Linked DNA regions of Homo sapiens: regions 2, 3 and 4 are each linked to region 1. Evidence: promoter capture Hi-C in 16 types of primary human blood cells and fetal thymus (Javierre and others, 2016). All regions are on one chromosome and are shown on one strand. Each heading gives the region's core, a stretch centred on a gene start or on the middle of the fragment in contact. The rest is flanking DNA. Distances are from core to core; before and after follow the strand shown. Region 1 holds the start of SPC24 (SPC24 component of NDC80 kinetochore complex). Region 2 holds the start of CNN1 (calponin 1). Region 3 holds the start of RGL3 (ral guanine nucleotide dissociation stimulator like 3). Region 4 overlaps PRKCSH (PRKCSH beta subunit of glucosidase II).

What was found. The method cuts DNA at HindIII sites, captures the fragments that hold promoters and counts their contacts. A CHiCAGO score of 5 or more calls a contact.
Region 2: the fragment with the promoter of CNN1 here is called in contact with the fragment with the promoter of SPC24 in region 1 in 9 of 17 cell types (neutrophils, M0 macrophages, erythroblasts and 6 more); the score reaches 14.1 in neutrophils.
Region 3: the fragment with the promoter of RGL3 here is called in contact with the fragment with the promoter of SPC24 in region 1 in 6 of 17 cell types (neutrophils, M1 macrophages, erythroblasts and 3 more); the score reaches 9.5 in neutrophils.
Region 4: a contact is called between a fragment that was not itself captured here and the fragment with the promoter of SPC24 in region 1, in 8 of 17 cell types (M0 macrophages, M1 macrophages, erythroblasts and 5 more). The highest score is 8.6, in M0 macrophages.

Annotation. Positions count from the first base shown.
Region 1 is chr19:11,153,070-11,158,705 of GRCh38, forward strand. SPC24 (SPC24 component of NDC80 kinetochore complex) reads right to left here and starts at 2,713. Exons shown (of 5, transcript NM_182513.4): 1 at 2,548-2,713. The coding sequence starts at 2,707. RefSeq lists a silencer at 2,670-2,829. The HindIII fragment of the contact is 19,008 bases long and covers 1-5,636 here.
Region 2 is chr19:11,537,194-11,542,572 of GRCh38, forward strand. It overlaps CNN1 (calponin 1), which reads left to right and starts at 1,658. Exons shown (of 7, transcript NM_001299.6): 1 at 1,658-1,797; 2 at 3,883-4,004. The coding sequence starts at 1,735. RefSeq lists enhancers at 629-1,574, 4,348-4,467 and a silencer at 2,634-2,683. The HindIII fragment of the contact is 23,519 bases long and covers 1-5,379 here.
Region 3 is chr19:11,415,522-11,420,820 of GRCh38, forward strand. RGL3 (ral guanine nucleotide dissociation stimulator like 3) reads right to left here and starts at 3,793. Exons shown (of 19, transcript NM_001035223.4): 1 at 3,725-3,793; 2 at 3,150-3,263; 3 at 1,315-1,538; 4 at 1,093-1,146; 5 at 416-627. The coding sequence starts at 3,757. ODAD3 (outer dynein arm docking complex subunit 3) reads right to left here. Exons shown (of 13, transcript NM_145045.5): 13 at 5,084-5,299. The HindIII fragment of the contact is 8,157 bases long and covers 481-5,299 here.
Region 4 is chr19:11,443,327-11,448,674 of GRCh38, forward strand. PRKCSH (PRKCSH beta subunit of glucosidase II) reads left to right here. Exons shown (of 18, transcript NM_001289104.2): 8 at 2,063-2,147; 9 at 2,946-3,024; 10 at 3,748-3,834; 11 at 4,113-4,292; 12 at 4,367-4,463; 13 at 4,896-4,965; 14 at 5,214-5,303. Among named protein-coding and RNA genes, the nearest start is that of PRKCSH, 10 kb to the left of the region's middle. The HindIII fragment of the contact is 4,726 bases long and covers 888-5,348 here.

The DNA.
Region 1 (5,636 bases), core at 1,463-3,962:
GAGAACCGTATGGCGGTTCCTCAGAAATCAAACTTTGAATTACCATTTGATCTGCTTCTGGCTGAATACAAAAAAGAACTGAAAATAGAGTCTTGGCTGGGCGTGGTGGCTCACGCCTGTAATCCCAGCACTTTGGGAGGTCGGGGCAGGTGGATCACGAGGTCAGGAGATCGAGACCATCCTGGCTAACACGGTGAAACTCTGTCTCTACCAAAAAAAATACAAAAAAAAAATTAGCCGGGCGTGGTGGCGGGTGCCTGTAGTCCCAGCTACTCGGGAGGCTGAGGCAGAATGGTGTGAACCCGGGAGACGGAGCTCGCAGTGAGCCAAGATCACGCCACTGCACTCCAGCCTGGGTGACAGAGCGAGACTCCATATCAAAAAAATAAAAAAAAGAAAATAGAGTCTTGGGCTGGGCGCAGTGGCTCATGCCTATATTCCCAGCACTTTGGGAGACCGAGGCGGGCGGATCACGAGGTCAAGAGTTTGAGACCAGCCTGGCCAACATGGTGAAACCCCATCTTTACTAAGAATACAAAAATTAGCTGGGCATGTTGGCACGTGCCTGTAATCCCAGCTACTTGGCAGGCTGAGGCAGGAGAATTGCTTGAACCCAGGAGGCATAGGTCGCAGTGAGCAGAGATCACGCTGCTGTACTCCAGCCTGAGCAGCGGAGTAAGACTGTCCTGGGAAAAAAAAAAAAAAGAAGAAAATATGGCTGGGCACGGTGGCTCATGCCTGTAATCCCAGCACTTTGGGAGTCCGAGACGTGTGGATCATGAGGTCAGGAGATCGAGACCATCCTGGCTAACACGGTGAAACCCCGTCTCTACTAAAAAAATATATATAAAAATATTAGCCGGGCGTGGTGGCGGGCACCTGTAGTCCCAGCTACTCGGGAGGCTGAGGCAGGAGAATGGCGTGAACCCAGGAGACGCAGCTTGCAGTGAGCCAAGATTGCGCCACTGCACTCCAGCCTGGGTGACAGAGCAAGACTCCGTCTCAAGGAAAAAAAAAATACAGTCTTGAAGAGATATTTGGGCACCCGTGTTCATAGCAGCGTTATTCAACACAGCCAAAAGGTGGATACAACCCAAGTGCCCATGGATGGATGAATGAATAAACACAATGCGGTCCATCCTTCTATATCATGAAATATGACTCAGCTTTAAAATGGACGGAAATTCTGGCCAGGCGTAGTGGCTCACCCCTGTCATCCCAGCACTTTGGGAGGCCGAGGTGGGCGATCACTTGAGGCTGGGAGTTTAAGACCAGCCTAGCCAACATGGTGAAACCCCATCTCTACTAAAAATACAAACATTAGCTGGGCATGGTGGCGCATAAGTGTGTTCTCAGCTACTTGGGAGGCTGAGGTGGGAGGATCACTTAAGTCTGGGAGGCAGAGGTTGCAGTGAGCCAAGATCACACCACTGCATTCAAGCCAGGGTAATGGAGCGAGGCTCTGTCTCACAGTAAGTACACAAAATGAAAGGAAATTCTGATACAGGCTATGACATGGATGAACCTGGAGGACATTATGCTCCATGAAATAAGCCAGACACAAAAGGGTAGATATTGTATGATTCCACTAGGAAGGGTAGATATTGTACAATTCCTCGTAAGGTTCCTAGAGGAGTCAAATTTGAGACAGAAAGTAGAACCCTGGTGGGTGCCAGGGTCTGAGAAGGGGATGGGGAGTGAGTGTTTCATGGGGACAGAGCTTCAGTTTGGAAAGATGAGAAAGTTCTGGAGATGGATGATGGTGCTGATGGTTGCACAGCAGTGTGAATGTGCTTAAGGCCACTGAACTGTGCAGTTACAGATAGTGAAGATGGGCCGGACACAGTGGCTCACGTCTGCAGTCCCAGTACTTTGGGAGGCTGAGGCAGGCAGATTACCTGAGGTCAGGAGTTTGAGACCAGCCTGGCCAACGTGGTGACCCCCCGTCTCTACCAAAAATACAAAAATTAGCCGAGTGCGGTGGCAAGCGCCTGTAATCCCAGCTACTCAGGAGGCTGAGGCAGGAGAATAGCTTGAACCCGGGAGGTGGAGGTTGCGGTGAGCCCAGGGCCTGGCAGCAGCAGATGCTCCATAAAACATCTGAATGCCTTCAGGAAGAAGGGATGGGCTATTGTCACAACCATTTGACAAGGAAGGAAGCTGAGGCACAGAGAATTTAAGAAACTCACCTCAAGTCTCACAGCGGACATGGGGATGGGTGCTAGGATTCAAACCCGGAGCTTTGACTCCTGAGCCCCAGTTCAAACCCTGAGACCCCCAGCTCCTGCTCACGGAGAGCTCAGAAGGGGCCAACCCCTCCAGACTCCTATATTTACCACTAAACCCCTGGGGGGTGGGGGATGGTTGCTGTCATAAAGCCGATTTCTCAGATGGTGAAACTAAGGCTCAGAGGGGGCCGTCCCAGGGGGCATAGGGCAGGAGATGGGAGAGTCCAGGAGAGAAGGGGTTTTGAGGTGGGCCTGGTCGCCCCCTCCCAGCACCCGGGCCCCTTCCCCCGTGGGCCCGCGACCACGCTCCGACCCTCACCTCGCAGCTGCTTCTCGGCACCGTCTTGCGTTTCCAGCAGCCGCTCCACCACCTGCTCGTGGCGCCCCAGCAGCCGTCGCTGCTGCGCCTCCGCGCGGTTGGCGCCCAGCAGGCTGAGCAGCCCCTGGCTCACCTCCTCTATGTCGCGGAAGGCGGCCATGACTACGCCAGGCTCCAACCCGCGCAAATTTGACTGTCCGCGGGGCCCGCCCTCTTCCAGAAGAGGTTGCTTTCCATTGGATTTTTTGATACGTCAGTCATAAGCAATGGCCAATAGGCATGGGGAACAGGATCTTAGACTGGGCTAAGCCGCCTTTGGTCTGGCCTGGTGCGCCTGCGACCACTCCTCCGTCAGTCATCGGTGATGACCAATCGGCGCAGGAAGGGGGAGGCTCCGTTATCCTTCCCGATGCGCCTGCGCGGGAGAGAAAGCGGCTGTTTATTTCTCCATAGGTCGAGCGCTTGCTCTGTGCAGGGTGGGGTTCTAACGGCAAAGCAGCGAGCAGCTTCTCCTGGAACTTACATCCTACAGTGTGTGCGTGGGATACACAATAAGCATAGAGAATAAGTAGATTCTATGAGAGGCTGCATAGCAAAATGGCGTCTGCAGCCAGATTTACTGGGTTCGAATCCCAGCGTTGCCACTTACTAGCTGTGTTACCCTGGACAGACTTCACCTCTCTGTGCGGTACTTTCCTCCTTAGTAAAATGAGGGTCATACTAGTGCCTGTGTCAGCGTTGGCGTGAGAATTCTTCTTATTACTTTTTTTTTAGAGACAAGGTATTGCTCTGTCACCCAGGCTGAAGTGCAGTGCCACAATCATAGCTCATTGCAACTTCGACCTCCTGGCCTCCAGCAATCCTCCTGCCTCCGCCTCCCAAAGTGCTGGGATTACAGGCGTGAGCCACCGAGCCCAGCCTGGCGTGATAGTGTCTCCTATTCAGTAGGTGCTATATAGTTGTTTAATGAAACATACATAGAATCCTAGCATGTAGCTGGGTGCAGTGGCTCACGCCTGTAAGTCTGAGCTCTTTGGAAGGCTAAGACAGGAGGATCGCTTGAGCCCTGGAGTTTGAGACTAGCCTGTCTCAAAACAAAACAAAACAAAGAAAAGATCAGTGCTGACTCTAAGGTGCTGGTTCCATGCTAGACACTGGTATTTCTGCAAGAAACAAGATGTTAAGATGGCATCTTTTTTTCTTTCTCTCTCTTTTTTTTTAAGACAGAGTCTCACTCTGTTGCCCAGGCTGGAGTGCAAGGCATTCCAGCCTGCTTCCTGGGTTCAAGGCATTCTCCTGCATCAGCCTCCCGAGTAGCTGGGATTACAGGTGCCCGCCACCGCACCCAGCTGATTTTTTGTATTTTTAGTAGAAACGGGGTTTCATTATGTTGGCCAGGTTGGTCTTGAACTCCTGACCTCGTGATCTGCCTGCCTCAGGCTCCCAAAGTGCTGGGATTATAGGCGTGAGCCACCGCGCCTGGCGTGGCAACATTTTTATGTGTGCTACCACCTAAAGAACATCTCATTGCTTTCCTATGATTTTTTTTTCTTTTCTTTTCTTTTCTTTTTTTTTTTTCTTGAGACAGAGTTTCGCTGTTGTTGCCCAGGCTGGAGTGCAATGGCGCGATCTCAGCTCACTGCAACCACCACCTCCCAGGTTCAAGTGATTCTCCTGCCTCAGCCTCCCGAGTAGCTGGGATTACAGGCATGCGTCACCATGCCCAGCTAATTTTGTATTTTTAGTAGAGACGGGGTTTCTCCATGTTGGTCAGGCTGGTCTTGAACTCCCGACCTCAGGTGATCCACCTGCCTCGGCCTCCCAAAGTGCTGGGATTACAGGCGTAAGCCACTGTGCCCGGCCTTCTTTTCTTCCTTCTTTTTTTTTTTTTTTTTTGAGATGGGGTCTTGTTCTGTCCCCCAGGCTGAAGTGCAGTGGCTCAGGTGATCCTTTCATTTCAACCTTCCAAGTAGCCGGGACTACAGGTGTGTGTCACCCTTTGGTGCCTGAGAGCATGGCTTCTTGAACCAGCTGTGTAATGTTGGCATAGACCTCACTTCTTTGTGCCTAAAGGCAGTGAATAACAATTAGGCAGAGTGAAATCAAGAGGGGAAAAGACTTCAGGTTCACTTTCTGATGCTGCAGCTTACCTGTGACCTTGGCAGGTTCCTAACCTTTCTAAGCCATAGTGGCTAAAGATAGCCCTTTCTTATTAGCTGCCAGGAGGTGTCCCAGAGATAAGCCAGGCAAGATTGTGCAACTCGAGCCTGATAGATCTAAAGGCTCCTGTGGAAAAATGCCACCCGCCCACCTCCCTTCCAAAAAAGCAAAGCGAGAACCGCTTCCCAGCCATTAGGATGGCTACTGTCCAAAACCAACCAACCAGCCAAGCAACCTGGAAAATAACAAGTGTTGACCAAGATGTAGAGAAATTGGAATGCTGTGTACCCTTGCTGAGAATGTAAAATGGTGCAGCTGCTGCGGGAAACAGTATGGCAGTTCCTCAAAAAATTAAAAATAGTATTACCATATCAGCAATTCCACTTCTGGGTATAGCCCCAAAAGAATTGAAAGCAGGTTGTTGGGCCGGGCGCAGTGGCTCATGCCTGTAATCCCAGCACTTTGGGAGGCCGGGGCGGGCGGATCACCTGAGGTCGGGAGTTCGAGACCAGCCTGACCAACATGGACAAACCCCGTCTCTACTAAAAATACAAAATTAGCCAGGCGTGGTGGCGCATGCCTGTAATCCCAGCTACTAGGGAGGCTGAGGCAGGAGAATCGCTTGAACATGGGAGGCGGAGGTTGCGGTGAGCTGAGATCACGCCATTGCACTCCAGCCTGGGCAACAAAAGGGAAACTCCGTCTCAAAAAAAAAAAAGAAAAAAAAAAGAAAGAAAGAAAGAGAAAGAAAGCAAGTCATAGAGCAGATATTTGCAAGTCTATGTTCATAGCACCCATTATAGCGAAAGGGTGGAAACAGCACAAGTGTCCTTAGATAGAAGAATTAATAAAACGTGGTTCATCTCTACAACACAATTGTTTTTTTTTGGTTCATCTGTACAACGCAATTTTTTTTTTTTTGAGCCACC
Region 2 (5,379 bases), core at 408-2,907, 380 kb after region 1:
AACAGTGTCAGCTGGGCACGGTGGCTCACGCCTGTAATCCCAGCACTTTGCAAGGCCGAGGTGGGCAGATCAACTGAGGTCAGGAGTTCGAGACCAGCCTGGCTAACATGGCAAAACCCCGTCTCTACTAAAAATACAAAAAATAGCCAGTCGTGGTGGCAGACACCTGTCATCCCAGCTACTTGGGAGGCTGAGGCAGGAGAATCGCTTGAACCCAGGAGGTGGAGGTTGCAGTGAGCCGAGATAGCATCACTGCACTCCAGCCTGGGGAATAGAGACTCTGTCTCCAAATAATAATAATAATAATAATAATAATAATAATAACAGTGTCCATCTCTGAGGGCGTCATGAGAATTGAATGGATATATGTACAGAGTTGGAACATGGCCTGACATAAGGGCTGTAGTCTGTGGCATATTGCAGCCATGCCATTAGCATGTGACCGATAAACTGCATATCCTCAACATATCATTAGTGTGTGGCAGGTTGCAGACATGTCATCCAAGTGTCACAAACATGGCCTTGCCATGTGGGGCATGATGTGGGCATAGCATCCACCCCTGTGGTCCAGGGGTGAGATCTGGCTGGGTAGGGCTGTTTGACAGGGACACAGTTCACGGCCTGGGACTTGCCAACAAAGTCACCCTGTAGTTCAGGTGACACACAAGTGGATGGGGAGGGTGAGACCCAGGATCTCTTCTCCCCCAGGTCCTTATGAGGGGCTGGAGGAGACAGAACTGGGGTGCTGGACCCTCAGCATAAAGAATGCTATAGGCTGGGCATGGTGACTCATGCCTGTAAATCCCAGCGTTTTGGGAGGCCAAGGCGGGCAGATTGCTTGAGCCCAGAAATTTGAGACCAGCCTGGGCAACATAGCGAGACCCCGGGCAACATAGCGAGACCCCATCTCTAAAAAAATAAAATAAAATTAGCCAGGTTGGTGGCACAAGTCTGCAATTCTAACTACTTGGATGGGCTGAGATGGGAGGATCACTTGAGCCTGGGAGGTCAAGGCTGCAGTGAGCTGTGATTGTGCCACTGCACTCCAGCCGAGGGGACAGAGTGAAACCTTGCCTTAAAAAGACTGCTATGGCCCGAGTCCCTCTGCTGTGCCGGGCACTGTGCTGGGCATGTAACAGGCATATTCTTCTGATCTTTACAACTCTCCCATGAGGCAGGCACTATCGTTAGCCCATTTTACAGATGTGGCCATAGAGGCCCAGAGAGGAGAAGGGGCTTACCTAAGGCTATAGACTGTTGGTATCTGGAGATAAACCCGGGATGGTGCTCACTAAACTACCTTGGGTGTCAGTCCTGCTTCAAGACTCCAGAGAGATAAAGAGAGATGACCTCAGAGACAAAGAGACTCAGACCCAGCCAGAGGCCCAATGGACAGTGGGAGGGGTGGGTGGAAGAAGGCTGGTCTCTGTCTGACCAAGCCCCCCCAGAATAACGCAGGCTGCCCCCCTAGGTGGAAACAATGACACAATCAGCTCCCAATACCAAGGGCCTGACATCACAAGGGGAGGGGAAGGCAGCTGAGGTTGTGGGGGGAGGTGCCCCGCCCCTTGGCAGGCCCCTACAGCCAATGGAACGGCCCTGGAAGAGACCCGGGTCGCCTCCGGAGCTTCAAAAACATGTGAGGAGGGAAGAGTGTGCAGACGGAACTTCAGCCGCTGCCTCTGTTCTCAGCGTCAGTGCCGCCACTGCCCCCGCCAGAGCCCACCGGCCAGCATGTCCTCTGCTCACTTCAACCGAGGCCCTGCCTACGGGCTGTCAGCCGAGGTTAAGAACAAGGTAGGGCTGGAGGGCCTCCCTGGCCTGGCCCACACGTCCTGCCAGGCCAGAGCCCTGAGCTTGGGGTCCCTTGAACCCCCTCCTGCCTATCCTATGTGACTTGGAAACTGAGAGGGGAAAAGGGAGTGATATGGGATAGGGGCTGCCTGTCTCCCCCTGAACATCCCGGAGCCCCCAGCTATGGTTGGGGCTGGAATGGGGGGGCACACAGCCACACATAAACAGAGGGGGTCAGTCCATTGCAAAGATACCCACCTGATCAGTCTTCTGTTAACCCTTCGTGTTCTTGGGGGGAACAACATAGGGGGAAGACTTGTTGATTTTTCCATATCCCCCGGCCTGACAAAGAAATTGGGGAGCGCTTGAGTGCTGGGGTACCTGGGAAGTGACGCCGTGAAAGTGTGGGAGATCCTGAAGACAGAGGGGGACGGTGAAAGGCAGGAAGCGGGCATCAGAAGTGCGGCAGGGGTCTCCTGACTGTGGAGCTAGGAAGATACCTGGACACCACCTTCATGCTATGGTTGGGTAAACTGAGGTTCGGAGAGGAGAGGCAAATAGCTGGGGTCCCAGGTAAAGCAGGTACAGCGCTCGGACCCTGGACTCACCCCCCATACACCAGGATGGGCTCAGCTTCTCCCAGCTGGAGAACTTTAAGTTTCCAGCCCACTGGAATCGCCCCAACAGTATTGCCGAGGGAGGAGTTCCTGCCCCATTTGACAGAGGGGAACACTGAGGCTCAGGGTGGCTTTTCCCAGGGTCCCATGGTGAGGAAGTGGGGGACTGGGTTGGAACCTGGGTCGAGGGATCTCGGGGCTGGAGGAGGGGGCTGGTGGGGGGCGGGTCCTCGGGCGAGAGACAGATCCCAGCGCCGCCCTCCTCCCCCCCAGCGCCGGCCCCAGAGCCGCGCAGAGCCGCGCAGAGACGCCGCGCCTTATAAGGCGGCCTCGGGGAGCCCGGGCCACGCTATATAAGGGCCGGTTTGCTTTATAAAGCCGGGCTGGTGGCGTGGGGGGCGGCAGGGCCAGGGCCAGGTGAGGGGGCCGCCCCTCCCACCTCCCCCCACTCACCCGGGAGAAGAAGAGGCAGCCCGGTCCCCTAGGGGCTGGGAGCCTGGCTGGGCTTGGGCGGAGGGTTCTGGAGAAATGGGAGTGGAGTGGGGGAGGGGGGGGACAGTGGAGAGAGGGAAAAGCAGGGAGGTGGGGGGAGAGGCAGACAGAGATACTGGGAGCCTGAGACACCCTAGGGACAGACGGGGGAGGGCGAGCCAGGAGCGAGATAAGACCTAGACAAGGATGGAGGGGCAGGGAGAGGAGACAGAGCCCCACCACCCCCACCCCAGGCAGGAAACCTGGAGACAGAGAAAGACCTAGAGAGGCAGATATACAAGACCCAGGAGCCCTACCCCTGGCCAGACAGGGACTAGCCACCTAGAGAGATGGGGACCCAAGACTGGGCCAAGAAAAGACAGCGCTGGGGAAGAGAGAGACAGAGGAGTCGGGGGGATAAGAGGGAGAGAGACATACAGACGTGCAAGGGGTGGGGGCTAAGACAGAGACAAGCCCCCACCACTAACCAGAGACAGAGCCCTGGAGCTGAAGACCTGGGGGACACGGAGAGACAGAGATGTATGACCAGCACTCCTCTGCAAGCCAGCACCCAGGGACACCTCCTTAGACATCCTTCTTCCCTTCCTGAGGTGCCCTCTCTTCCAACAGGGGGCACAGAGGGGGCAGGGCTAGAGGAAGAGAAGCCCCAAGTTTGGCCTGGGCGAAAAACCAGGGTGCCGGGTGCCACCCCTCTAGCTCAGAGGATCCAGCTCCCCACACCCCACCCCTCATCTACATTCCCTGGTGCCAAACCTCAGAATGCCCGGAATGGCCCCCTGGGCAGGTGCCACCTCAGCCCTGGCTCTCAGCCCGCCCCAGCCCCCATCCCCCAACTATGGATCTGGGGCAAAATTGCCTTAGTTGGGAAGGACGAGGGAGATCAGGCTCTAGGAAGTTCAGACAGGACCCAGGGAGCCCAGGCTGCCCCCAATGCATCCTCACCCCTTTCTCTGTGCCCCCTGCCCTCCCCTCGCCCCAGCTGGCCCAGAAGTATGACCACCAGCGGGAGCAGGAGCTGAGAGAGTGGATCGAGGGGGTGACAGGCCGTCGCATCGGCAACAACTTCATGGACGGCCTCAAAGATGGCATCATTCTTTGCGAGTGAGTGAGGCTCTCGAAGCCGAGACCCTGCAACATCCCCCAACTCCATGCAGCCCCTCAACCCCCAAAACAACCATGATCCTGGAACTGAGTTGAACACTTTCTATTGGATACCTTTGGGGTGGCCAGTAATCATTGTGCCCATTTAACAGGCACAGAAAACTGAGGCTCAGGTGAAATGCATTGCACCAAGTCCCACGTGGTTTCAAGGGAAATGACTCTAGAATCTTAACCACCATGCTATATAGGGTAGGCCCATCTGTGGCCGCCAGAGTCCCCAGAAAGAGCGGTCACAGCTAAAAGGCAGCAGCCAACAGCTGTTCATGGCTGGCTTGGTGATGTGAGGAGAGATGTGCAGCAATAATTAAAGGAGGCCCTGGTTTTCTTTCTGTTTTCTTTTTGTTTTTTTGAGATACAGTCTTGTTCTGTTGCCCAGGCTGCAGTGCAGAGACACAATCTCGGCTCACTGCAACCTCCGCCTCCAGGGTTTAAGTGATTCTCCTGCCTCAGCCTCCCCAATAGCTGGGATTACAGGCACGCACCACCATGCCTGGCTAATTTTTGTATTTTTTTAAAGTAGAGATGGGGTTTCACCATGTTGGCCAGGATGGTTACGAACTCCTGACCTCAATTGATCCACCTACCTCAGCCTCCCAAAGTGCTGGGATTACAGGCACGTGCCACCATGCCCGGTTAATTTTTGTTTTTTTTTTTTTTTTTTCAGTAGAGATGGAGTTTCACCATGTTGACTAGGCTGGTCTTGAACTCCTGACTTCAAGTGATCCACCTGCCTTGGCCTCCCAAAGTGCTGGGATTGCAGGCACATGCCACCACGCCTGGCTAATTTTTGTATTTTTTTTTTTTTTTTTTAGTAGAGACAGTGTTTCACCATGTTGACCGGGCTGGTCTCAAACTCCTGACCTCAAGTGATCCACCTGCCTCGGCCTCCCAAATTGCTGGGATTACAGGCATGAGCCACCTCGCCCGACCTTCTTCTTCTTCTTCTTTTTTTTGAGATGGAGTCTTCCTCTGTCACCCGGGCTGGAGTGCAGTGACATGATCTCAGCTCACTGCAACCTCTGCTTTCCGGGTTCAAGTGATTCTTGTGTCTCAGCCTCCTGAGCAGCTGGGATTACAGGTGCCCACCACCTTGCCCGGATAACTTTTGTATTTTTAGTAGAGACGGGATTTTGCCATGTTGGCCTGGCTGGTCTCGAACTCCTGACCTCAAGTGATCCACCCGCCTTAGTCTCACAAAGTGCTGGCATTACAGGCATGAACCACTGCACCCTGCCGGCCCTGGTTTTCTCCTCGCCTCAAAACCTCATTGCTGAGGGAGGTGAAAACCCTAACAGCTCCCAAGCCCCAGTTCCAC
Region 3 (5,299 bases), core at 2,543-5,042, 260 kb after region 1:
CGAGAGTGCAATGGCACGATCTCGACTCACCGCAACCTCCGCCTCCCGGGTTCAAACGATTCTCCTGCCTCAGCCTCCCGAATAGCTGGGATTATAGACATGCCCCACCACGCCCGGCTAATTTTGTATTTTTAGTAGGGATGGGGTTTCTCCATGTTTGTCAGACTGGTCTCAAACTCCTGACCTCAGGTGATACACCATCCTTGGCCTCCCAAACTGCTGGGATACAGGCGTGAGCCACCACGCCCGGCTGACAAAGAATTATTATCCCCATTGTAAAGATGAAGAAATTGAGGCTTAGAGTTTAAAATCTTGCTTAAGTTTTGTAGCTCTGAGAGGGGAGAGAAAGCCTGTGTGGGAAGAAGCAGACAGGAAAGGCCTTCTCAGAACACGACTGGATCTGAAAACCCCTCACCTGTCCACACCTGAGGCGGCTCCTCTTCCTGCTCTCGCTCAGCCTCCTCCAAAAAATCTTCCAGAAGCTTCTCTGCTTTTTGAGCCTCAGCACTCCCTGGGGCCGCCCAGCCCAGAAAGGTTCGGACACTGCCCAGGTCCGAATGGGCAGGGTGGTCTCGGAAATCCTGAGGGTGGTCCTGCAGCCAGGAGCCCAGCACTGACACCACAGCCCTGGCCAGAGAGGCAGGGTCTCAGAGCTGGGTCCAGAGTGGGGGACATAGAATATGACTCCTGGTACCTTTTTTTTTTTTTTTTTTTTGAGATAGAGTCTTACTGTGTCACCAAGGCTGCAGTGCAATGGCCTGATCTTGACTCACTGCAACCTCAGCCTCCCGAGTAGCTGGGACTACAGGCATGCGCCACCACACCCAGCTACCTTTTTTTGTTGTTGTTGTATTTTTAGTAGAGACAGGGTTTCGCCATATTGGCCAGGATGGTCTCTAACTCCTGACCTCCAGTGATCCACCTGCCTCGGCCTCCCAAAGTGTTGGGATTACAGGCATGAGCCACCACGCCCCACCTGACTCCCAGTCTCTTATTACCCAACCTGCAATTTTCAAAACCCCAGTCCGACTGCTAACCTTTGACCTCTTGGATTTCCCTCCCCGCACTCCCCTATCTGGATGAAGGACCCACCTCAGGTTCTTGTTGAAGCTCAGATCTTGTACCGCTGTCTTCTTGATCTCTACCCTGGGAAGAGGCCCCCCAGCAGGTGAAGAAGGGGGAACCTAGAGGGGGCTTAGGAAGAGGGCTCTGGGTCTGGGAGGTGTTTCCAGGTTCCACACCTGAGGAGGTGGAGGGGGGTGCCCAGTTGGGGTTCTAGGGTGGAGAATACGGAGGTTATGGTTCGCTACTGACCCGGGAGGTGGGGGCGGTGGCATTGGTGGCAGCAGAAAGCCCAGCAGGCAGGCAGTGGGTACAAAGGTCCGGTAGGTGGCCAGGAAGGCGGGCATGAAGCTGGGGTCCTGCTCACGGTCTCCAAACACCAACTCTCCCACCAGCCGCTCCAGGCGCGCTGCCCTCAGCACCCTCACCTTGCTGGTTCGATAGTGGAGGAAGGTATTGGCAATGGGGCTGGGAGCCTGCAGGAGGGGAGAGGTGGCCATGAGAGAGCAGGAGTGGTCCTCACAGCACCCCTTCTCTAGTCACATTCATCACTAGCACCACTCTTTTTTTTTTTGTTTTTTTTTTTGAGACAGAGTCTCACTCTGTTGCCCAGGCTGGAGTGCAGTGGCACGATCTTGGGTCACTTCAACTTCTGCCTCCTGGGTTCAAGCAATCCTCCTTCCTCAGCCTCCAAGTAGCTGAAACTACAGGCGCACACCACCAAGCCCAGCTAATTTTTGTATTTTTGTAGAGATAGGGTTTCACCATGTTGGTCAGACTGGTCTCGAACTCCTGACCTCAAGTAATCTGCCCCCCTTGGCCTCCCAAAGTCTCCCAAAGGGCTAGGATTACAGGCGTGAACCACCGTGCCCAGCCCCTAGCACCACTTTTTTTTTTTTTTTTTTGAGACAGAATCTCACTCTGTCACCTAGGCTGGAGTTCAGTGGCGTGATCTTGGCTCACTGCAACCTCCGCCTCCTGGGTTCAAGCAATTCTCTGCCTCAGCCTCCCAAGTATCTGGGATTACAGGCACCCGCCACCAAGCCCAGCTAGTTTTTTCGTATTTTTAGTAGAGACGGTGTTTCACCGTCTTGGCCAGGTTGGTCTTGAACTCCTGACCTGATGATCCACTTGCCTCGGCCTCCCAAAGTGCTGGGATTACAGGCGTGAGCCACCTCGCCCCGCCTGTAGCACCATTCTTTCATGTGATTCCTCTGTCTCCCGGCTTCTTGGAGTTATTGTTTTGGTTTGTTTTTTTTAGAAACAGGTCTTGTTTTGTTGCCCAGGCTGGGGTGCAGTGGCACAATCATAGCTCACTGCAGCCTCCAAGTCCTAGACTCAAGCGGTCCCTCTGCCCCAGCCTCCTGAGTAGCTGGGACCACTGCTGGGCATCATCACGCACAGCTAGTTTTTTAATTTTTATTTTTATTAGAGAGAATCTTGCTGTGTTGTCCAGGCTGGTCTCCAATTCCTGGCCTTCTGCCTTGGTCTCTCGAAGCGCAGGGATTATAGGTGTGTGCCCCACTCCCTGCCCGCTTGAAGTTATTGTTCCTCCCCATCCACAAATAGCTCCTGCAACTTGCCCTGGAAACCCTCCCTCTCCCATGCCCTGTCCCCTACTCCCTCTCCCGTCCCCTCCCCCTCCCGTCCCCTCCCCCCACCCCCCCGCCCCCGCCCCACACACTCTTTTCCACCCAGGGCTTCCCTCAGCCCTCCTGTCGCGCTTCACTGGCTGCCCCATCCGCCCTCACCTAGCCACTTCTAAACCAACCCCATTCCACCTTCCAGCCCCGGCCCTCTAAACCTGCCTTTCCCAACTCTGCCGTCCAGTTCTGTCCTTACCAAGTTGTCCCTAGGCTCCTCTCGGGAACTGCGCGGCCATCGCCTGGCCCCACCCCATTCCCTGGATCTCCCCCCACTTACCTGGCCGCCCCCAGTCCCCTTTCTACCTGGTCGCCTCATCTGGTCGCCTCCGAGCCCCTCCCTTCCTTCCGCCCACTGCACCTGGCGGCCTGTGCTCGGCTCTCCAGCTCCGCCCTCAACTGGTCGCTTCCGGCCCCGCGCCACCCACCAAACCCCCTCCTCACCTGGCTGCCCCCGGGGCCCTCCGCCGGGCTCCTGCGCTGACTGCGCTGCCGCCGCAGGGAGACACTGTACACCGCGCCGTCCTCGGTCTCTTCACCCCAGTCCTGCAGCGGTGCCTGGACGCACAGGCGGACTCAGGGCACCAAAGGGGCACAGGTCCTGGGGCCTCAGCCTCCTTGGCCGCTCGGACTCGGGCCGAGTCCTCCTGCTGCATCCCCACGCCCCTTCCCGGCCAGAAGCTGCGAGACTAGGGCTGGGGTCCCAGGCTAGTCCCCTCCTCGCTGCGGGTCCCCTCCTCCCAGGTCCTGAGGACATGGGGTGGCATTTGGGGATGTCCCAGGGCCCAGTCTAATAGAACCTGTCTCTAGCTCTTTCTGCCGACTGCGCTCAGAGACTCGCGCCCCCATCCCTAAGAGGAACCAGTCGCTTCACTGGGTCAAGGGCCGCGAGTCCCCAGGAGGGGACTCCAGGGCAAGTTCAGATTGGGAGCAGATACCGTCCGACGGGCGGGCGCTTGGAGTTTCTGGACCTGCGGGTCACCAGGGATGCGGGGTCCGGGGATCCCTTGTCCCCTTACCAGGGCCAGCTCTTTGCCTGCTGTGCGCTCCATGGCCGGCGCCCGTCCCTCTCAGTGGCGCCGCTGAGTGAGGCGGAAGGGCCGGCGGGTGGCGGGTGGCGGGCGGCGGGCAGTGGCCGGGCGCTGAGGCCAGAGGGGCGGAGCGGCCGAGCTGCTGGGGCGGGGCGGGGCAGGGCAGGCCGGACCCAGCCTCTGGGTGCCTCCAGCCGGACCCAGCGCCAGCCCAGGAGAGGTCCTGGCTCTTCCGCTGGGTGCCTATCAATCTGTCCCCAGAAGAAAGGACATATCTGTCCCCAAGGGGTCTTTTTTGTATCCCCAGATGTGGGGGAGCTCCTGTGTGGGGGCATGTGTGTGTCCCCAGACCAGAGTCCTCTGTCCTCCAGTGGAAGGGGCTAGCTTGATCAAGTGTGGGGGCATCTTCCACTTTTTATTATTATTGCTATTATTTTGAGATGGAGTCTCGTTCTGTCACCCATGCTGGAGTACAGTGGCTTGATCTTAACTCACTGCAACCTCCGCCTCCCAGATTCAAAGGATTCTTGTGCCTCAGCCTCCCAAGTAGCTAGGATTACAGGTGCCGCCACCATGCTCAGCTAATTTTTGTATTTTTTGTAGAGGCGGGGTTTTGCCATACTTGCCAGGCTGGTCTCAAACTCCTGGCCTCAAGAGATTCGCCCACCTCAGCCTCCCAAAATGCTGGGATTACAGGCATGAACCACGGCGCCCAGCCTTATTATTTTTTAGAGACAGGGTCTCACTCCTGTTGCCAAGGCTGCAGTGCAGTGGCTTGATCTTGGCTCACTGCAATCTCCGCCTCCTGGGTTCAATCCATTCTCCTGCCTCAGTCTCCCAAGTAGCTGGGACTACAGGCATATGCCACCATGCTCAGCTTTTTTTTTTTTTTTTTTTTTTTTTTTTTTTTTTTTGGTAAAAACTGGTTTTCACCATGTTGCCCAGGCTAGTCTGGAACCCCTGGGCTCAAGCGACACACCCAGCTCAGCCTCCCAAAGTGCTGGGAATATAGGTATGAATGAGCCACTGCACCCCGCCCTTATTTTATTTATTGAGACAGGGTCTGGCTCTGTGGCCCAGGCTGGAGTGCAGTAGCACGATCATAGCTCACTGCAGCCTGGAGCTCCTGGACTCAAGTGATCCTCCCAACTCAGCCTCCCAAAATACTGGGATTACAGGCATAAAACCACTACATCGGGCCATCTCCCATTTTTAAGCTCCATCTGCGTCACTAGCTGATGGGAGTCATCATGACCCAGGTTGGAGGAGGCAGTCTGTGGCCCTGGGTTTTCAGGGACAGCCGTCTCTTGGGTGGTGCAGGGTCAAAAACAGATGAATACCCAGGGGCATGGTCGGTAACATTTATTGCGCAACTCTGAGGCCGGGGCGGACCCAGCTGGGGAGATTTACTGTGGGAACGTCTGGCCCGGCCCCTTCCTCCCCTCCGGGCGCCGCTGGCCGCCTCCGTTCCCGGTCCGGGCCGCGTTCAGCCCCTGAAGGGGCCCCGTGGGGCCTGCGCTAGACCCGGAGGGATCGGGGGCTCCGAAGGGGGCCGCCTGGTGG
Region 4 (5,348 bases), core at 2,001-4,500, 290 kb after region 1:
CACGAGGTCAGGAGATTGAGACCATCTTAGCCAACATGGTGAAACCCATCTCTACTAAAAATACAAAAATCAGCTGGACATGGTGGTGTGTGCCTGTAATCCCAGCTACTCGGGAGGCTAAGGCAGGAGAATTGCTTGAACCAGGAAGTTGGAGGTTTTCAGTGAGCTGAGATTGCGCCCCTATATTCCAGCCTGGCAACAGAGTGAGACTCCGTCTCAAAAAAAAAAAAAAAATTAGCCTGGCATGGTGGCATCTGCCTGTGGTCCCAGCTACTTGGGAGGCTGAGGCAGGAGAATCGCTGGAACCCGGGAGACAGAGGTTGCAGTGAGCTGAGATCTCGCCACTGCACTCCAGCCTGGGTGACAAAGCAATACTTCATCTAAAAAAAATAATAAAGAGCTTTTTCTATCTGGGGTTTGGCCCTTTGTCTGCAACTGAAGATTTTTTTTTAGTTTATTTATTTTTGAGATGGAGTCTCACTCTGTCGCCTAGGCTGAAGTGCCAATGGCCCGATCTCTGCTCACTGCAACCTCTACCTCCTGGGTTCAAGTGATTCTCCTGCCTAGGCTTCCTGAGTAGCTGGGATTACAGGCACCTGCCACCACAGCCGGCTAATTTTTGTAGTTTTAGTAGAGACGGGGTTTCACCGTGTTGGCCAGGCTGGTCTTGAACTCCTGACCTCAGGTGGCCTGCTTTGGCCTCCCAACGTGTTGGGATTACAGGCATGAGCCACGGTGCCCAGCTCTGTCTGCAACTGAAGATATTATTTCCCTTCTTCATTTGTTTTTGGTGCTAGAGCCTGGTGTTTTTTGGTAAGGCCACATTGCATGTAGAAAGGGAATTCACTGTCTGGCTCTGTCTGCCCCTGAATCTTTGTCGTGTTGCAAGCTTCCTTTCACTTGGGTCTGGGCAAGCTCAGGCCTGATTTTCCTCAGGATGTGTTCTCAGTGTGGAGCTGTGGAATCAGAGGGAAGCGCCATGTTTTGACCCAGATTCCCAAAGGGTGGCGGGGCTGAGCCAGGGCTCCGAGGGTAGATGGCCTGGATTGGGCCCCAGGCTACACCTCTCACTGGCTAGGTGATTATGGGCAGGTCCCTTCACCCACAGAAAGGTCAGGGACCCCTCAGGCCCTCATCTGTGAGACTCAGAACAGTGTCAGCCGGGTCTCCTGGGACATGCGGGATGTCCTGGGGTGACCTAAGACTCTCTAGAGGAAATACCAGCTGTTTTTATTCTGTTTGTAGAGGACCAAGCTGGAGCTTGGTATACAGTGGGAACTGAATCCTGGTATACAGTAGGAAGTTAATCATTGGAGCCGCTGTTGTGGCTGCTTTCCGCTCTGCTTAGGTTAGAGTAGCGACAGACAAAGGAGGGACTTTTGGGACAGAGGCTCGGTCCCCTTCTGTCCGGCTGGCCCCTCTTCCTGGGAGCAGCCCTGGGGACCCCCAAGATGCCCCCAGGACCGGTCTCCCTCCCTGTATCCTCCCCATCTCCCAGCATCCTTGGCCATGAAGTCTCATTCCTGCCAGCCCTGCCCCGACATGCCTCTGCCAGGTCCTAAACCTAAAGTCTCAGTGGTCGCTCTCCTCTCCCCAACCCCACCTCCCACCTCTGACCGTCTGCGCACTCCATCTGCGTCTCCCCAGAATCTGCCTCTGCTCCGTGCTTCTTCCTCAGTCCCCAGCCTGGGCCAGCCCTTGTTATCACCTGGCTTCTGCCCTCGCCCCCACCTCTGTCCCAACAGTGGCCTGACAGGGCTGCCCTCTGCCACCTGGGTTCCCACCTCCCTGCTCCAGCCCCACCAGTGGCCCTCCTGCCTCTGCACTCCCCACCTTGTCCCGGTCTCCCCCAACACAACCAGGCTTCAACCATTCACCTTGCTCTTCGTCTGTTCTCCCCTGGTAAGGGCAGGGACCTTTGTCTCCTCCACAGTCGTGTCCTCAGGGTCCAGCATGGGGCCAGGCATATAGTAGGCGCTTGGTGGCAAACGACCCTGTGGGGTGCGGGGGCTGATGGGAGCCGGTGGGTGGGCAGGGGGTGACAGAGGTGGCTTCTTTACAGAGCAGCTGGCTGCTGCCAAGGCCCAACAGGAGCAGGAGCTGGCGGCTGATGCCTTCAAGGAGCTGGATGATGACATGGACGGGACGTGAGTGTCCCCTAGTTGGAGCTGCCCACCTTTCCGTGGGCCTGGGTTTCCCTCCCCGCCACCCTCGCCTCTAGAAACCAGCCAGATCCTCCTTGGGTTCCCCCGGCGTGGGGTCCAGGCTGATCCCAAGCCCCGTGTGACCCCGCCTCTTACTCGTGGATGGCCAGGTCCAGGATGCCCTGGGCGAGGAGATAGGGGGACCACCCTCTCCCCAGGAGCTGGGCACAGACCCTCAGCCTCAGGGAGTGTGTCTAGGCATCTAGTGATCGGATGGCTTTTCCCAGCCCCACTACGCTCTGGGGAAAGCCAGACCTGGGTTCGAATCCTGGCTGTGCCTCTGAGCTTGCTGGGTTACCTGGTGGAGGGTGGACTTTTGGGGGCTGAGAGGCACACGGGGAGCCTAGGAGATGTCAGGTGCCAAGGAGCAGGGGGCTTCAGAGGGACCGAATGGGCAAGGGTGGGGGTGGGCTTTGCTGGGTGGGGGACCAAGGCAGATGGCAGCTTCAATGTGCCGGGTCCTGGGGTGGAAGGAGGTGCCACCTGGGTGAGTTGGTAGAGAGGTCATCGGACATTTGGGGGTCCAGGTATCTCCCAGTCCCACCCCTTACTTTGAGCTCCTTTGGGGTCATGGAGTCCTGAGGAGGGGGCAGGAGGGTGGGGAGGCCCCTACACCTTGAGGTCCTGAAGCAAGTTCCAGGGTGGGGCCCTGCAGGGAAGAACAGGTGGGCCACATGGTGCCCCCAACTGAGAGCCACTGGGGCCTCACCCCTCCAGTCTGCTTCTGCCACGCCCCCGCAGGGTCTCGGTGACTGAGCTGCAGACTCACCCGGAGCTGGACACAGATGGGGATGGGGCGTTGTCAGAAGCGGAAGCTCAGGTACCCCCGGCTGCCCCTTGGTTGGGGACTTCTAGGGAGCATTGCCCCAGGGTGACCTCAGGGCACAGGAGGGGGACCAAGGAAAGCTCCTTGCTGGCCTGGGATGCCTCCTCTGGGTGAGCTGGGATGGCAGCCACTCAGGGCCGCTTCCCGCCTGGCAGGACCCGGGATGGAGCCAGGTCGCGCTGGAGCCCGTTTCCCCGCACCTGCCCCCACTCTACCCGCTGTTGAGCACCCAATCCCCTTCCTCCCCCACCCCTGTCCTGCCCTATTCCCCTCCTCCCCCACACCCTCGTCCCCTGTCTGTCTCCTTTCCTATCCTCCTCCTTCCCCGTGGCCCCTGGCTTCTGGCCTCCCTTCTCTGCCCACCCCTGGGTTTCTCCCTCTCCATCTGCAGCCTGGGCCTTGGCCTCTCCCTTGGAGGGCCTGGCCCTCTCTGGTCCTGGGCTCTCTCTTCCTCCATCTGTACGTCCGTTTGTCCATCTGCTTCTCTCTTTCTGTCTCAGTGCCCCCAACCACTCCAGCCCCTGGTCTCCTCCTCCCCTCCCACGGGCCTGTGCTGCCCCCTCCTGGCCGCAGTGCCTCACTGGCGTGGCCCTGGCCTGGTCATCAGGGCCCGGGGCCCAGCCCTCCCGTGCCTGGCACCGCAGCCCGGGTGCCGGGGTGGCCGAGATGGGGGACACGTGGTGGCCTAGATCTTGACACCACCCCCAACACACACAGGCCCTCCTCAGTGGGGACACACAGACAGACGCCACCTCTTTCTACGACCGCGTCTGGGCCGCCATCAGGGACAAGTACCGGTCCGAGGTCAGTGGAGGAGAAGGGAGGGGACTTGGTCCTCCCACCACACTGCCCCCACCCCGCCTCACAAAGGAGCTGCCTCTGGTTCTGGCACCTGGCCACCCTGGCCAGCTGGGTGGCCCCAGCACCCCCCACCGAGACCCCCCGACCCCAGCTGTCGGTCCTCCCTGCAGGCCCCGCAGGAGGGGCAGAGACACCGAGGCTGCCCCTTGGGCTGTGGTGTGAGCCTGAGGGTGTGGGTGGACCCTGAGTCCACAACACCGACCGCACTGCTCACCCGCCAGGCACTGCCCACCGACCTTCCAGCACCTTCTGCCCCTGACTTGACGGAGCCCAAGGAGGAGCAGCCGCCAGTGCCCTCGTCGCCCACAGAGGAGGAGGAGGAGGAGGAGGAGGAGGAGGAAGAAGAGGCTGAAGAAGAGGAGGAGGAGGAGGATTCCGAGGTGCAGGGGGAGCAGCCCAAGGTCCGTGTTTGGGGGAGAAGTGGAGACAGAGAGGGTGGGGGAAGGGCTACTCACTGACCCTGCCCCTGCCCCAGGAGGCCCCACCGCCACTGTCACCCCCGCAGCCGGCCAGCCCTGCTGAGGAAGACAAAATGCCGCCCTACGACGAGCAGACGCAGGCCTTCATCGATGGTGAGGGTGGGCGGGGGCCAGGCTCCTCGGGTGGGCCCAGCGTTTCCTGCCGTGGTGGCACAGGTCGAGGGAAGATCCTGAGCTTAGACCCTGCTCTGACTCGGCCAGCACAAGCCCCAGTATCTTGGGGAGTCCAGGAAGGGGGCCTAGGGTAAGCCAGTCCCACCCTCGCCAGCCCCAAGGGGCCCTTCTGCCTCCCCAAGGGCCGCAGCTTGTTTGTGTCACTCCTGGCCCCACTCGCTCAGGAGCTGGGAGCCTGGGCAGCAAGTCGGGGCTGCTCTATAGCTGGTGAGGCCCTCAAGGCTGTCGGGGTGAAGTCCTTGGCCAGAGCAAAATGAGGGTATGGGAGCACACAGCCACATCCATGGAACCCCGTTCCCCATCCTCCTGGATGGGGTTGAGGACATCTCTGACCTCCAACCCCTCTCCCAGCTGCCCAGGAGGCCCGCAACAAGTTCGAGGAGGCCGAGCGGTCGCTGAAGGACATGGAGGAGTCCATCAGGTAGCGGGGGCTGAGGAGCGGGGACACCTGTCCCACAGCGACTGCTCCTTGACTCCCAGGGGAGCTGGTGATGGGGAATCACTGAGGCAACCACAGGCTGGGCCTGGTCCCTGCAGGGAGGGTCCCTGGGAGGTGGCAGGGAGGACAGCCTGGGCACCATTGCTCAGCCAGACCCTCCTGTGTCTGTCGTCCTGGGTCAGGCACTGGCGTCCCCAGCTGCCCCTTAACCGCTCCGCCTCCCCTTCCAGGAACCTGGAGCAAGAGATTTCTTTTGACTTTGGCCCCAACGGGGAGTTTGCTTACCTGTACAGCCAGTGCTACGAGCTCACCACCAACGAGTGCGTCCCAGGAATGCAGGGGCCCCCACTGGCAGGGTGGGAGGC